Linked DNA regions of Homo sapiens: region 2 is linked to region 1. Evidence: promoter capture Hi-C in 16 types of primary human blood cells and fetal thymus (Javierre and others, 2016). All regions are on one chromosome and are shown on one strand. The core of a region is centred on a gene start or on the middle of the fragment in contact, and the rest is flanking DNA. Distances in the headings are between cores, read along the strand shown. Region 1 holds the start of SATB1-AS1 (SATB1 antisense RNA 1). Region 2 overlaps SATB1 (SATB homeobox 1).

The links. The method cuts DNA at HindIII sites, captures the fragments that hold promoters and counts their contacts. A CHiCAGO score of 5 or more calls a contact.
Region 2: a contact is called between a fragment that was not itself captured here and the fragment with the promoter of SATB1-AS1 in region 1, in 1 of 17 cell types (naive CD4 T cells). The highest score is 5.2, in naive CD4 T cells.

Annotation. Positions count from the first base shown.
Region 1 is chr3:18,442,191-18,448,548 of GRCh38, forward strand. It overlaps SATB1-AS1 (SATB1 antisense RNA 1), which reads left to right and starts at 3,047. Exons shown (of 7, transcript NR_125803.1): 1 at 3,047-3,252. It also overlaps a transcript of SATB1 not described here. RefSeq lists a silencer at 2,953-3,172. The HindIII fragment of the contact is 8,267 bases long and covers 659-6,358 here.
Region 2 is chr3:18,390,668-18,397,025 of GRCh38, forward strand. SATB1 (SATB homeobox 1) reads right to left here. Exons shown (of 11, transcript NM_002971.6): 7 at 3,795-4,249. Among named protein-coding and RNA genes, the nearest start is that of SATB1, 31 kb to the right of the region's middle. The HindIII fragment of the contact is 3,261 bases long and covers 1,393-4,653 here.

The DNA of each region.
Region 1 (6,358 bases), core at 1,797-4,296:
TCCCACCAAATTTTAAGGAGGTAGTACTTTAGGAGGGAAATCCCTATTCGTTATTTTTTCATATATTATTTATATTCATTATTCAGAAATAAATACAAAATTGAATTGTAATTTTATTTCTCTTGTATAATGTTAGATGTAGCATTATCCAAATTTGACAATGCCTTGTATTTTATAGCTACTGTTTAAATATTATGTATTACCTATGACTGAACAACTCTACATTTAAAATATTGTTTTCATTAGAAAAAACTATGAAGTAGTAAGTGTCAAATGAAGATGAAGAATAAACATATTTGGTATATTTATAAAATGCATAGTCATTTAAAACGTGTACAAATAGAATACATAGTTTGCTACTGTTACATTTTATATAGTATACACATTGTCTACAGTGTATTTAATAATGTGCTTAACCAAGTTAATTAAAGTATTTATGTCTGATGATTGTGTAATAAACACTTGGAGAGGTAGTGAAAGATACAGCCAGTTACTTCTGCTAACTAAAGTTGAAATTATGCACTTATTATAACCTTTTCTAACAATGTGAGAAAAACAGAGTAAATATATTAAATTTGTTTCACAACAGATGCTTAGGTTGTTAATATTTAAGATGCCTATTCATGCTATTCCTGTCTGCACATTTGTCAAAAATGTAAGCTTGAATGCTAATGTTTGCCAGCAGACTGGAGCAGCCAGTATATGAATGTACTACTGTTCTAAGAAAATAATATGCAATAGAAATAGAGGACTACTGCTAAATCATAGCAGTAGTACCATACAGGAGATGAGAGGTTTTTAGAGCAAACACCTCAACCTTGGTTTTCTTCAGACTTAAAGTATGGGTTTTTGTTTTTGATTTTTGCAGCTACATTTGACCACAGAATAAATCTCACATTCCTGACATCTCAGAAAAATCCACTTTGGATAGAGTGTAAATTTCAACTAAGTTTCAACGGGATGAGTTACTCTGTCAGCAGTACAAACACCGTAAATTTCAGATTGCTTAGGACAAAACCTGACACCGAGCGGTAACATTTTACTCATTCTTACCCTACCCGCCACCCCCTTGAGAAAGTCAGGTCCCCTGGCCTCCAAGGATGCAAACATGGAAACCCAGTCAGTCAGAGCAGTAAGGTTCTCTCTGGGGAATAGGGCATCCTTCTGTTTTCCCTGTCTCTTTTATAACCATGTGGAGTCCAAGTCTTAGAACATTTGCTTGTAAGTCCGGAATGCCACTGAGAAAGTTCGCCAAGGAAGGGCGCAGAGGTCAAAGTTGCCAACCAGGACACTTTGAGAGAGGACCCTGTGGTTGACATTTGTTAGTGAAATTTGCAACACCTCAGTGGAGGCCAAGGCCAAAACTTTCAAGGAGATCCCTATGCCCCTTTCCCCTGTTGGTCTTCTGAGGTCATCCCAAGAGGAAACTGCGTTTCCCCAGTAAGCACGTGGCACTCCCCGGACCTGCCACCTGCCTGCTTCGTCCTTCTCGTCGTGGTTTCCCAAACCCCGGTTCTGCCGGCCCGGGAGCCTTAGCACTGGAGCAATAGGAAAAGGCCACCGCGCTCGGGTCTGGACAGCAGGAGGGAAACACGGTGTGGACTGCGAGGCTGCACCTGTGATGTCCCGGCCCCTGCTAAGAGGACGGCCCTTTCTTCTGCCTCTTGCCCAACTCCAAACCCACATTCACGCCAGCAGCCTCTCCAGGACCGGCCTCGCTACAGCCAGCGAGGGCTCGAAATGAGGAGTGCCGCGGCTTTCAAACTCCGGGCTCCAACTTGAGCGCCCCGGCGCCCGAGTAGCTCCCGGGATGCAGAAGTTGCCACAAACTTCCCAGGCCCCTCTTCGCCGATGCTTACAATCAGCCGCGCAGGCAGGGAGCGGAGGGAGGCGGAGATGGACCGGGAAAGGATGCTGAGCAGACTCGCGATCCGGTGGGGGAACATTACCACTCCCGCAGCCCACTCCTCCAGGCACCTTACTGCCCGCCCGGCTCCAGAACGCACCGAGAGGCTCCCCTTTTCCCCATTTGCTTCCTTCGGTCTTTTCCACTCCCCTTTCCTTTTCTAAAAGGGGCCATACCGGTGACCTGAAGGAGTTTGTTCAGCCAGGGTCTATTGGGCAGGTGTGGTGGTGTGTCCACACCCAGACAGAAAACGAATGGCATCTTCAAATCCCCCATCCCGACCGCTCTCCCCTACTCTACCAGCCCACCCCTCCAAGGTCCGTCTGCGTGAGAAAAGGGGCTCGGAAGACCGTTGAAGCCCTGCGCCCACGAGAGGGGAGCCCAGCCGCCCCAATAGGGGACGAGGAGTGGGTGCTACGGAGAAGTTTGGATTGATTCCGGAAAAAGAGGGACAGAGATAAAACAGCAAGAGTAGCAAGGGGAAAAGGGAGGCAAAAGAGCAGAACTCACTCAGGCATGGACGTTGGGGGCGGCGGTGGCTGTCGAGTGCGGGCCTGAAACCAAGAACGGCTCCCCGGGCGGGCGCGCCGGCGTCGGACTTCCGAGGCGGCGGCTTCTGCCTCTCCTGCCGCCGCCGCCGCCGCCGGAGCTGCGGCTGCCGCGGAAGTTAATTGCAACTTGACTTCAAGTTGTCCTCTTTCCCCATACGAAGTGGGCGTTTAAAGGGGAGAGCGAGGCGAGGAGCGAGCGAGCGAGCGCGCGGGGCCAAGGGAAGGAAGAGAAGGAGGGGGAGGGAGGAGATGTTAACGGGCGGGGGGGGGAGAAGGGGGAGGGGGCGGCGGCGGGGGCGGGAGGGGGAAGGGGCCGGCGGGAGCTGCTCTCGTCTCGTCGGTCGCGGCGCCTGCAGTCTGGAGGCGCACCGGAGCGGCCGGGGCGTCCCCCGCGGGAGCCCGCAGCCACCCGGGACGCGCATCCAGACGTGGCGCTTCGGACCGGGCACGCTGCGCCCGGGGGCTCGGCGGACCCCGCGTAGCCGCCGCTTCGGAGCTTGTGCGGCGCGGGCTGGCCAGCGGGGCGGCCAGGGCCCGGCCCGCCTCCCCAGCGCCCGCCCGGCTTCTCCCCCTGGCGGTGGGAGCCTCGGCGGCCGCTGGCGACACTAGGCGCACTGAAGCCCGAGCCGAGCCGAGCCCGAGCCGCCGCCGCCGCCGCCGCTGCTGCGCACCGCTCCCGGGCTCCCTCCCAGCGCGCCGGCCGGGGTGTGGGGGGCGGCGGGCCGGAGGGGCGAGGGCGGGCCAGGGGGCGCACACGGGGGTTGGCGCGGAAGACAGGACCCTCAGCCTCGAGGGGTAAGTGTGGGCGCTTGGGGGTGCGCTTGGGGTGCGCGGCGCGGTTCTCGTCGCCCGCCAACCCTGCCCCCTCACCTCTCCGGGGGCCCCCAACACGCGCACTCCTCCTCTTGTCGCCTGCGGCTTCCTCTTGTTGCTTGTTGTTTGGCTGGGTTTTGGGGGGTGAGTAGAGGGGGTTACTGTAGTGTGTGTGCAGGCGGAGGAGGAAGTCAGGTGAGAGGCCGCGAAGCACCCCCACCCCAACCCAGCCTGCGTGGGGTGTATGCTTCCCCACTAGGGGCATTTGGGCCATTTTTTTTTTCTCCGTCAATGTTCGGTCGAGACGATGTTTCCTAGAGGGCCTCCTTCACTTACAGTCTGGTCTGTCCATCTCCCTTCATCCCACCCTCGTCCGTCTTAGCCCCTTGTCCAGGAGCCCTGCACCCCAAGTGAGGAGCACGTGGCGGAAGGAGGAGGAGGCCCTCTCTTGAAGACCCCCACGCTGTGACCCAGCCCATTAGTTTAAATATTTATCCTCACATCACCAGCTGTACTTTTCAACCCACTGGAACAAGACGCCTAGGCAAGGTCCAATTTCCCCAAAAAGCTGGGGGCAAAGCGGGAGAGATGAGGGTTTTATTGACATTGGGAGAGAAGGGGCCAAGGAACCTTCCCAAGTGGAGACTGAAACTCAAAAAATCTCTACAAAAAGACTAGGGTGACTGGAGGCTCAGGACTGCAGGCTTAGGAGAAACTGGAGCTCCATCAACTTTATTTCTCTCCCCCTGCCTCTCCTCCCCCCAGCTCTGAGGAAGCTAACAGGTCTTTTGTTTTGTATTGTGTAGCCTTTGGGAAATTTGCATTGAGTATGTCAACAGAAAATTACTACTGTTTACTCAAAGGGATTGCAGAAAGATAAAACATAGTAACATAGTTTTTACTTTTCCTCTTCTTTGTACGCTTGTGTGTATTTGGCAAGAAGTGTAGTTAGGTTCATGGCATGAACTGCAAAACGTCAGGTTGTAACAATAAGGACTGTAGAGCTGCCTAGGTGTATTTTTAGAAGCCGCACTTTCTTGAATTCCTTTCACACAAGGCTTGCTCTCTCATTAAGTCCCCATAAATAATTTTATTTAGAGAGGAGGAAACTATGGAAGCAGGAGGGAGATTGCTAAGATTTCCATCCTGCCAGCGCACAGCACTGTTTGCAGGGAAGTTCCTGGAAAGTGATTGTGGGCTGAGAATTCAGTTTTTCCTAAAAGCTCTGTTAGGTCCTGTTGTGTCAGATGGCTATGAATAAAGCACGCTGGGAAAATCCTGATATCCGTGCAGTCTTATTTTATCTTTTACACAGTGGTTGATTCGACTTTCAAGCCCTGGTGACAAACACATCAACTCTGCTGTATTTTTGTGTGCTTTTTCTAAATAAAGGAGAATACAGCATGTATTCATGCTGCTTTTTTCCCCTCATCCATGGTTATTGAATTCACTGGAAGTTATTCATCTTTTTTCAGTTGATCATCATTTTATGCCGAGACCACAATTCCAAACATATAGGAATTTTTTAAAATTATGAATTAGGGTTCTTTTAGGGAACCAACCCTCCTTTTTAAAGATACAAGTGCCCACCACAACTCCTAGTTTTGTAAAGCAAAGCAAAAAGGTATAAATGATTATAATGAGCAAAACATAGTAAAACGTTTTCCTTCTTGGATCACTTTCTGTCCCCACAGGTCCCAGGAGACATTAAATCCTCCTGCCTTAATTTACCAAAATGCTGCATTTCCTAACCAGTAACAATATCTGTGTCTGAGAAAGACATCAGGTTTGGAATGGAAAAAAATACATTCTCGGTATTTAATTACTGCTTAACAGTAATTTATTGTAGCAGGCAGTTGATTTTCCAATTCTGAAAGCCTGAAATGAAGCTGAACAGAAATTTGAAATTTTTAAAAAAGGTTTTTTTTTCTTTCTTACACTCTTATATACTCATCTGCTTCCCCAAGTTATCAGCCAAGCCCCTATAACTGAAAGTATGATATGCTCCTCTGAGTTGAACCGAGACCATTTTGCCCCTCATTTTTTGAATTTGCTTTTTCCTCCCAATAGTCTTGTATAGAAAGCACATGGGCTCTGTTAGAATACAGAATTATGCAATTCTGGGTGCAGTGCATTAAATGACATAGTTTGATAAACTCTTAAGCCTTACAGCTCAGATGTTAATAAAATATTGTAGTTGGCCACAAATTTCATAGCACAAGGCTAAGATCATTTTTCAGAAGAAAGGGGCATTTAATCTGGATTATTTGGTTAGTTGCTATGGTCTGAATGTTAGTGTTCCCCCAATATTGGGGTTCATGTGTTAGAACCTAATATCAAAAGTGATGGTATTAAGAAGTAGGGCCTTTGGGAAGTGATTAAGTCATGAAGGCTTCAACCCTCATGAGTGACAGGAGTGCCTTTGTAAGACAGGCTGAATCTAGCTACCTTGCCCCTTCCACTGTGTGAGGACACAGCAACAAAAGTGCCATCTGTGAAGCAAGGAGTGAGCCTTCACCAGATACTGAATCTGCTGGTGCTGTAATCTTGGACTCCTCAGCTTCCAGAACTGTGAGCAATAAATTTCTGTTGCTTATAAATTACCCAGTCAAAGATAATTTGTTGTAGCACCTCAAATGAACTAACACAATAATACATTTGTGCTACTAGATTTTTTTAACAAGTCCAAATGTGACTTAAATGACTGAAAGACAAATCTGGAACATATCAAATGGCCAATAATAGTAGCTGGTATCAAAAGCTGCACTGGTTATTTCCTTAAAAGAATAGACAATAAAATATTGCCTACTAAATATTAGAAGAAAGATCAAGGGAAAGGATAAAACAGCATTGGCCTTGAAGGAAGTTATTTGCTGGAAAAAAGACATCAAAATGTGAAAAGACAATGGATCAGTTAGTGGTTTGAATCAAAGAAATACTTGAGGAAGAAAAAATATATATATATATGTACATATTTTTCTCTTAAGACCAGAGGAATCAGAGATCCTAAAGCTCTAGGTTGGAAGGTATTTTTAAAGTTAATTTGTTCTGTCAAATCTTTAGAGGCCATTCAATGCAGATATTTTGG
Region 2 (6,358 bases), core at 1,773-4,272, 52 kb before region 1:
TACATGATGGTCCATTACTGTTATCAGTTTTGAATAATCCATCTTCATTCTTTATTTTACTGGAAAATAAAGTGTGCCAAAAGACAAGAGGAGGGGGAAGAAAAAGGGGAAAAAAGCCACAGAGTGGGATCAGAGTTAAACTCTGAATTTTATTCTTTTAAAAATCAAAGGGTATTAAGGAATGTATTTGCATGTATCAGAACCATTAAATAGCAATAAGATAGAGAAGTGAATTGAAAAGTAGAAATCTAGAAGCTTTGGCAATTACTTTTAGCCATAGGTTTCCATTAAAAAGACATCAAGTAGGCATAACTGAATGAATGACATATGCTAAAAGCTGATATCTTCAACGGCAATTAAAGAACCCATGCCCATCAATTCAGAAGGGGAAAAATTCCTTAAAACAAGTAACTATATAAGTTTACCATAAATTTTCAGAAAAGGTAGGCTTAAAAAAAAACCCATGTGCGAAAGTCTTGGGAGGGTAATGTGTTAATATAGGGAACCCTATTAAGATGATAAGAAAATTCTCAATAGTTAAAACCTAAGACCCAGGGTTTTAAAGTTATACAGAGCTTCAATGACTAAAATAACCCTCAATTCATACAAGTGTTTTCTATCATATTAAGGTCTTAATGCCGTTTATAAGAAACAGTATCTTCATCTGACCCTATCATGTAACTTTGTATTTGTATGTACATATTTTACATTAATTTTTTTTTTATTATACTTTAAGTTTTAGGGTACATGTGCACATTGTGCAGGTTAGTTACATATGTATACATGTGCCGTGCTGGTGCGCTGCACCCACTAAGTCGTCATCTAGCATTAGGTATATCTCCCAATGCTATCCCTCCCCCCTCCCCCCACCCCACAACAGTCCCCAGAGTGTGATATTCCCCTTCCTGTGTCCATGTGATCTCATTGTTCAATTCCCACCTATGAGTGAGAATATGCGGTGTTTGGTTTTTTAATGTTTTAAAAGTTGGAGTTGGAACTGCACATTGTACTAGGTGCACACAAATGTGTGATGTGTGATTTAACTCTGCAGAGCTCCTTGTCTATACATACGCATTAGCATGTGTATTTTCATACTCCACACTCACACCATACCCTCTGCACCTGCTTTTATTGAAATGCATACACTTTGAAATCAACACACTACATCCAGTCATACCAATGCATAATCATTAAAAAATAAATGCAGCTGTGTATGTATGTGTGTGTGGTTTTTAAGAATGACCAATGAAAATAAATTCATGCCTGCATGTGCAAAAGTTAGTTCTCAAGGAATTAATATTGAAATATATATACAAATTTCCTCTTAAGTCAAACATCTTCAAATATGGCCCTATATCTACTTTGACTGAAGAGTATCAATTATCAATATAAAGCTTTAAAACACCCTTCATAATCCAGGGCACTAAATATTTTTTTGGTAATGACTTTTTTTCCTAAATTGGCTATTATTAATAAGGAGGTATCTGCAATCAAGCTATACAAGGTAAAGTTTTCATTCTCCTCTCACAGAAAAAAAAGTCACTGTTTTTGATATTAACCACAGAGATGATTACCTTTTTCAAAGAGATTAATATGGTATAAAAGAGAAAATTTTGCCTTTCTTCCAGTAACAAATCCTGTAGATATTGTGGAATTTGTCCTTTTAAGGACCAAAGGCAGAACAAATGGCCAACTCCTCATAGTAATGGCTGTAACATCATAAACCCAAAAGGAGAAAAGCTGTAATGATGGGTGACAACTTTATCCTCACTTCTCTGAGTTCTACTGTCTTAGCATTCTTCACTATATAAAGGACACTTACTTAGTGCTTTAAGAAATAACTGCTCAATTTTTAAGACACCAGTAACTATATATATACACATATATACATATATATACACACACATACACACACACATATATATACACATATATATACATATATATATAATTTGTGTCTATGTCATGATGTCTTTGTGGGCTTTTAACTCAATTCAAAAAAGCATTATTGAAATGTTATGTAGAGACCTACTTTTTTTGGCCTAGTACGGAGAATTATTAGTACTTACTATATTTACTAAAATAAAGAATGCTACCAGAAACAGGAATATTTAGAGGGTTGACTTTTGAGCCATTCATTTTCAATAATTATCCCCCAACTGAATATAGGTGTCATATTAAGTTCACCAGCTAATGATGAACACAGTTTTTTAAGCTATAAAGATATAGAACTAGGTAAAACCATACAATTTTAACCTGAGACATAGCCTTGTGCAACTGCCTTTTCAAAAACAGACGAACGTACAAAAAAAAAAAAAAAGATGAATCGACTGAAAACAAACACTGAATTAGAGGCTTTGTCAGGTCTCCTAACTCCCCATCTAGTTAAGGCACGCCAAAAATAAGTCACAGCTGGGATTCTCCTAGGTATGGAAACTCTGCAAACTAGGAATTAATACTAGATTACTTCTGTACCAGAATTTTATTCTCATAATCATAATCATGTAATAAACAAAATAACTTAAATATGAAAGGAAAATGTGAGTCAGGTCAAAAAATAAGATAAATTGACAAAAGAAAGAACAGTGGTAAAACAAAAGAGCTGAAAAGGCATAATGTCCTTCTTCTAATCAAAGTTACGCGGTTTTTCGTTTTTGTTTGTTTTTTGGTTTTGTTGTTGTTTTTTGTTTTGTTTTAGTGTACCTGGGCCAAAAATAAACACCATATATATCACGTATCATACTAGTTTCCAAACAAAGAAAAAAATTCTTCTCATTCACAGTTCAACAGAGTCAATTTGTTTAGGGCTTCTCAAATATCTTTATCTTATGACCTCTCATATATATCACTTTTTCTCCATGACCCTCTTAAACATCTTCCAGGCTGATAGATAGTACCTTCACAGGAATTGGGCCAGGAAGACAAAGGTGTGCACATTAGGGGTATAAGCAGGCAGTGAGATCTCTACAAATGAGTCTGCAAACTAAGGCCTGCCAGCCACACTTACTCCATGGCCTGTTTTATAAATAGTTTTACTGAAATACTACCATACCCAGTGCCATTCATTTATAGTCTATGGCTGCTTTATTACTCTACAGTGTGACCGAGATTTAAGTGCTTCAAAACCTAAAATATTTACTATCTGGTCGATAACAGAATAAAGTTTGCTGATGCCTGGTCTAGACAATGAATTTGGAAGACAATAGCATGAGGGAGCGCACACAGCTTACAAATATTTTATGTTAATAAGTCATATAATATTTTTTCAAAATGGCTGCTTAGAATTAAGTGGATTATTGCTTCCAAGGTGTTAACAACAACAAACAACAACAACAACAACAACGCTGCAGTAGAACTTTAAGAGGGAACATTTATATACCTAAGTTTGATATGGGTAGTAACAACATAAATGGAAAAGACAATAGGCTAGAAGCCTGGAATCCTGCCAATAGCCTTGACTGAGTCATGAAACTTTTCTTAACCATCTACTATAGCTTATGATTCCATTATATAAAAGCATAAGTAATGCCAGTTTAAAGTACGTTTGACATTTAATTAGTCTTTCAAAGGCCCTGAATTGGGATCAATCTGCACATAGGTTCCCTTGATTCAGAAGTATATCATAGGAAAAGGAGTGGTAAAATTGAGGCTCCACCAGGAATAGGTAATATGATCACATGAAGAGAGAGAGAAAATGTTAGTACAGAAGTAAAAGAATAAACTTTAGTTATAGATGGGACTAAAGAAAGAGAAAATAGGAGACAGCACAGAACCACTTATGAAACACAACTGACCTGAGTTCTGTTAAAAGCCACACGTGCAAATACCGCCTGGGAGATTCCTGCTCGTTTCAGTTCATCGCGTACCCACTGGTAGATTTCGGAAGACACCTCTGTGTTGGTCGAAACCTGTTGCTCCAAAGGCTTATTCATAGATCTACTGACAGGGGGAGGGTGGTTCAAGTATTGTTGGTTTAAGGACTGCTGGGCTAAAAGTCTATTCACTGCATACTGCTGGTTCAGCAGCTGAGCCATCACCAGCTGCTGGTTGACCAATTGAGGACTGATAGGTGTTGATACGAGCCCAGGGTGCAGGTTTGGAAGAGGTGTCCGGACAGAGGGCTGGCTGCCATGGGAGAGCTGCGCAGGGGATGGAGGCTGCTCGGCTGTGTTCCCTGGAACTGGTTGCTGGCCAAAATTGACATGATTGGCGCCTTGCTGGGATAGCTCAGAAAGACTATCCATTTCAACTAAAGTGGACAAAGAGTAAAATCACATTCAGCCAACAATGATTGGCATTGATAAAGATTTCTAACCATTTCCTAAATTAAAAAAGGGTAGGCACAGGGCACACCCCAAATCCAATAAAACCAAGAAAATTTCAAGTTGCAACTTACCAGGCTGTGTTTTTGCTCTCCTTTCCTGAACAATTCTACAAACTTTGGAAATGGGACAGCATTCCTAATCTTATTTTTAAAAAGTGGTTTAGATTTAAGGCATAAAATCAATTATTACCCAAACTCTTTCCAACTAGTTGTTCACTCTCACTTATTACCCCAAGAAGGCTTCTAAGCAACAATTTTTAAAAATGGCTTCTAAAAGAATGTCATTTGCTTAATGACAACTACAAACAGTGAGCTGAGCTGAGAAAATAAGCTTATAATAAGCAACTAAAAAAATTTACAAATATATTCTCATGATATTCATTAACTTTAGTACTCTAGGAAAAAGGTGTAAAAGAAAAAATATGACATAAAAAGTCACCTACTTTCAATTTTTACCCAGCAGTGAATAGAAGTAGTTAATGTAATAAATAAAAATGGGCATAATAATAAGTGTATATTGAACACTTGCTGAATATCTTATATGCCTTGCTTCATTTTAATTCTAACCATCATGGGCAGTAGGTATATCTGGAAATACTTTTTAGAATAAAGCAAGTGATTTATTGTATATCAAGCCAGCATACCCAGTGTTGCTAAGATCCAAATGTTTTTTCTTCAGGAAGCTATGGCCATCACCAGATGCTAAAGACAATCTTGCAGGGAATCGTTCTGGTACAATGGTGAGGCTGTCATGATTTTGCAATTTATTCCCACCTACCCAGGATGAATGCTTCTTCCTTGGCTAGGTTCCTCATATGGATTGGCTGAGCATCATCTCTAAGTATGTAAATGCTTTTCTGTACGAAGAGGAGACTGGTTCGATGCTCTTGGCTGGAAGGGCTGAGCATGAAGCTGTACATAAACAGGACTTTCCAAATTGTACACAGACTTCCCACATGTAGACTCTAGTTTGATTTTAATCATCAATTCTCTTTTCATTAAATATGCAGGTTTTACATTTAGAGGAACTTTATCATAGCGCTATAGCTCCTGATATACGCAAAATATAACTAAGAATTGGGGAAGAAATCTTCAATTTCTACCAGTGATATCAGCCCAAGTGGGCCATTCACAGAGAACAGTAATTCAAGCAATTATTCCAAAAATGATGCATTGTCTTCATTACAGCCTTAAGCTATAAAAGGCAAAGAATCCATTTTGGTAGATGGATGGTTTTTCTTCAAATATTAAGAGCTAAAACTTGCTCAAAATTTGGATTAATTTTTCTTAAAAAATTAAAAAAAAATTAAATGAATGTAAAGAAATAAATAGAAATAGATTTAAAACAGGACATAATGCCCATTCCTATATTATTTTAAAATATATGTTTTGGAGGGTAAAAGTAGGTGAAAGAGAACAGTAATAAAAATTAAAACATTAACCTTAATCACAGTGTTTGCTTTTGTGAACATTAACAAACTCAACAGAGAGAAAATGCCATCATCTAAATGCTTAGGTACCATACACAACTTTTATCTATCATTTTACACTGCAGATAATTTTAGTGTACTTCTTGCATAACAAATATTCACCTAAAGTTATGTGTTAAGATAGAATGCTACCTTGGAATTAAAAGTTCAGAAATGATGCAATAATTGTTCTGGTATGGATGGTAAAGCAATGTGCTTATCAAAGTGCCCATCCATGGCGGCTGGGGGTTAGAGCTATAAAAATCACTTGATCTCTACTGTGGAAACTATAAATAGTTTAATTTAAGAAGTTTAATTTCCTTTAAAATTGGGTGTAAAAATAGGCACTTTCTCATTCAACCAGACAAAAACAAAAAACCTAAAAGCAAGACTTATCAGAGAAAGAAATCACAGCTAATATTAGTTATTCAAGGCCTGGTTAGGTCTTCACTGAGTTGTTAAAAAATGACAGCTCCCCTCCCAACGCCTCAATTTCCTGCATGTCTGACAACCAAGTCAGTTTGGCTGATTTAAACACAAACATTTATTGAATTTAATTATCTCA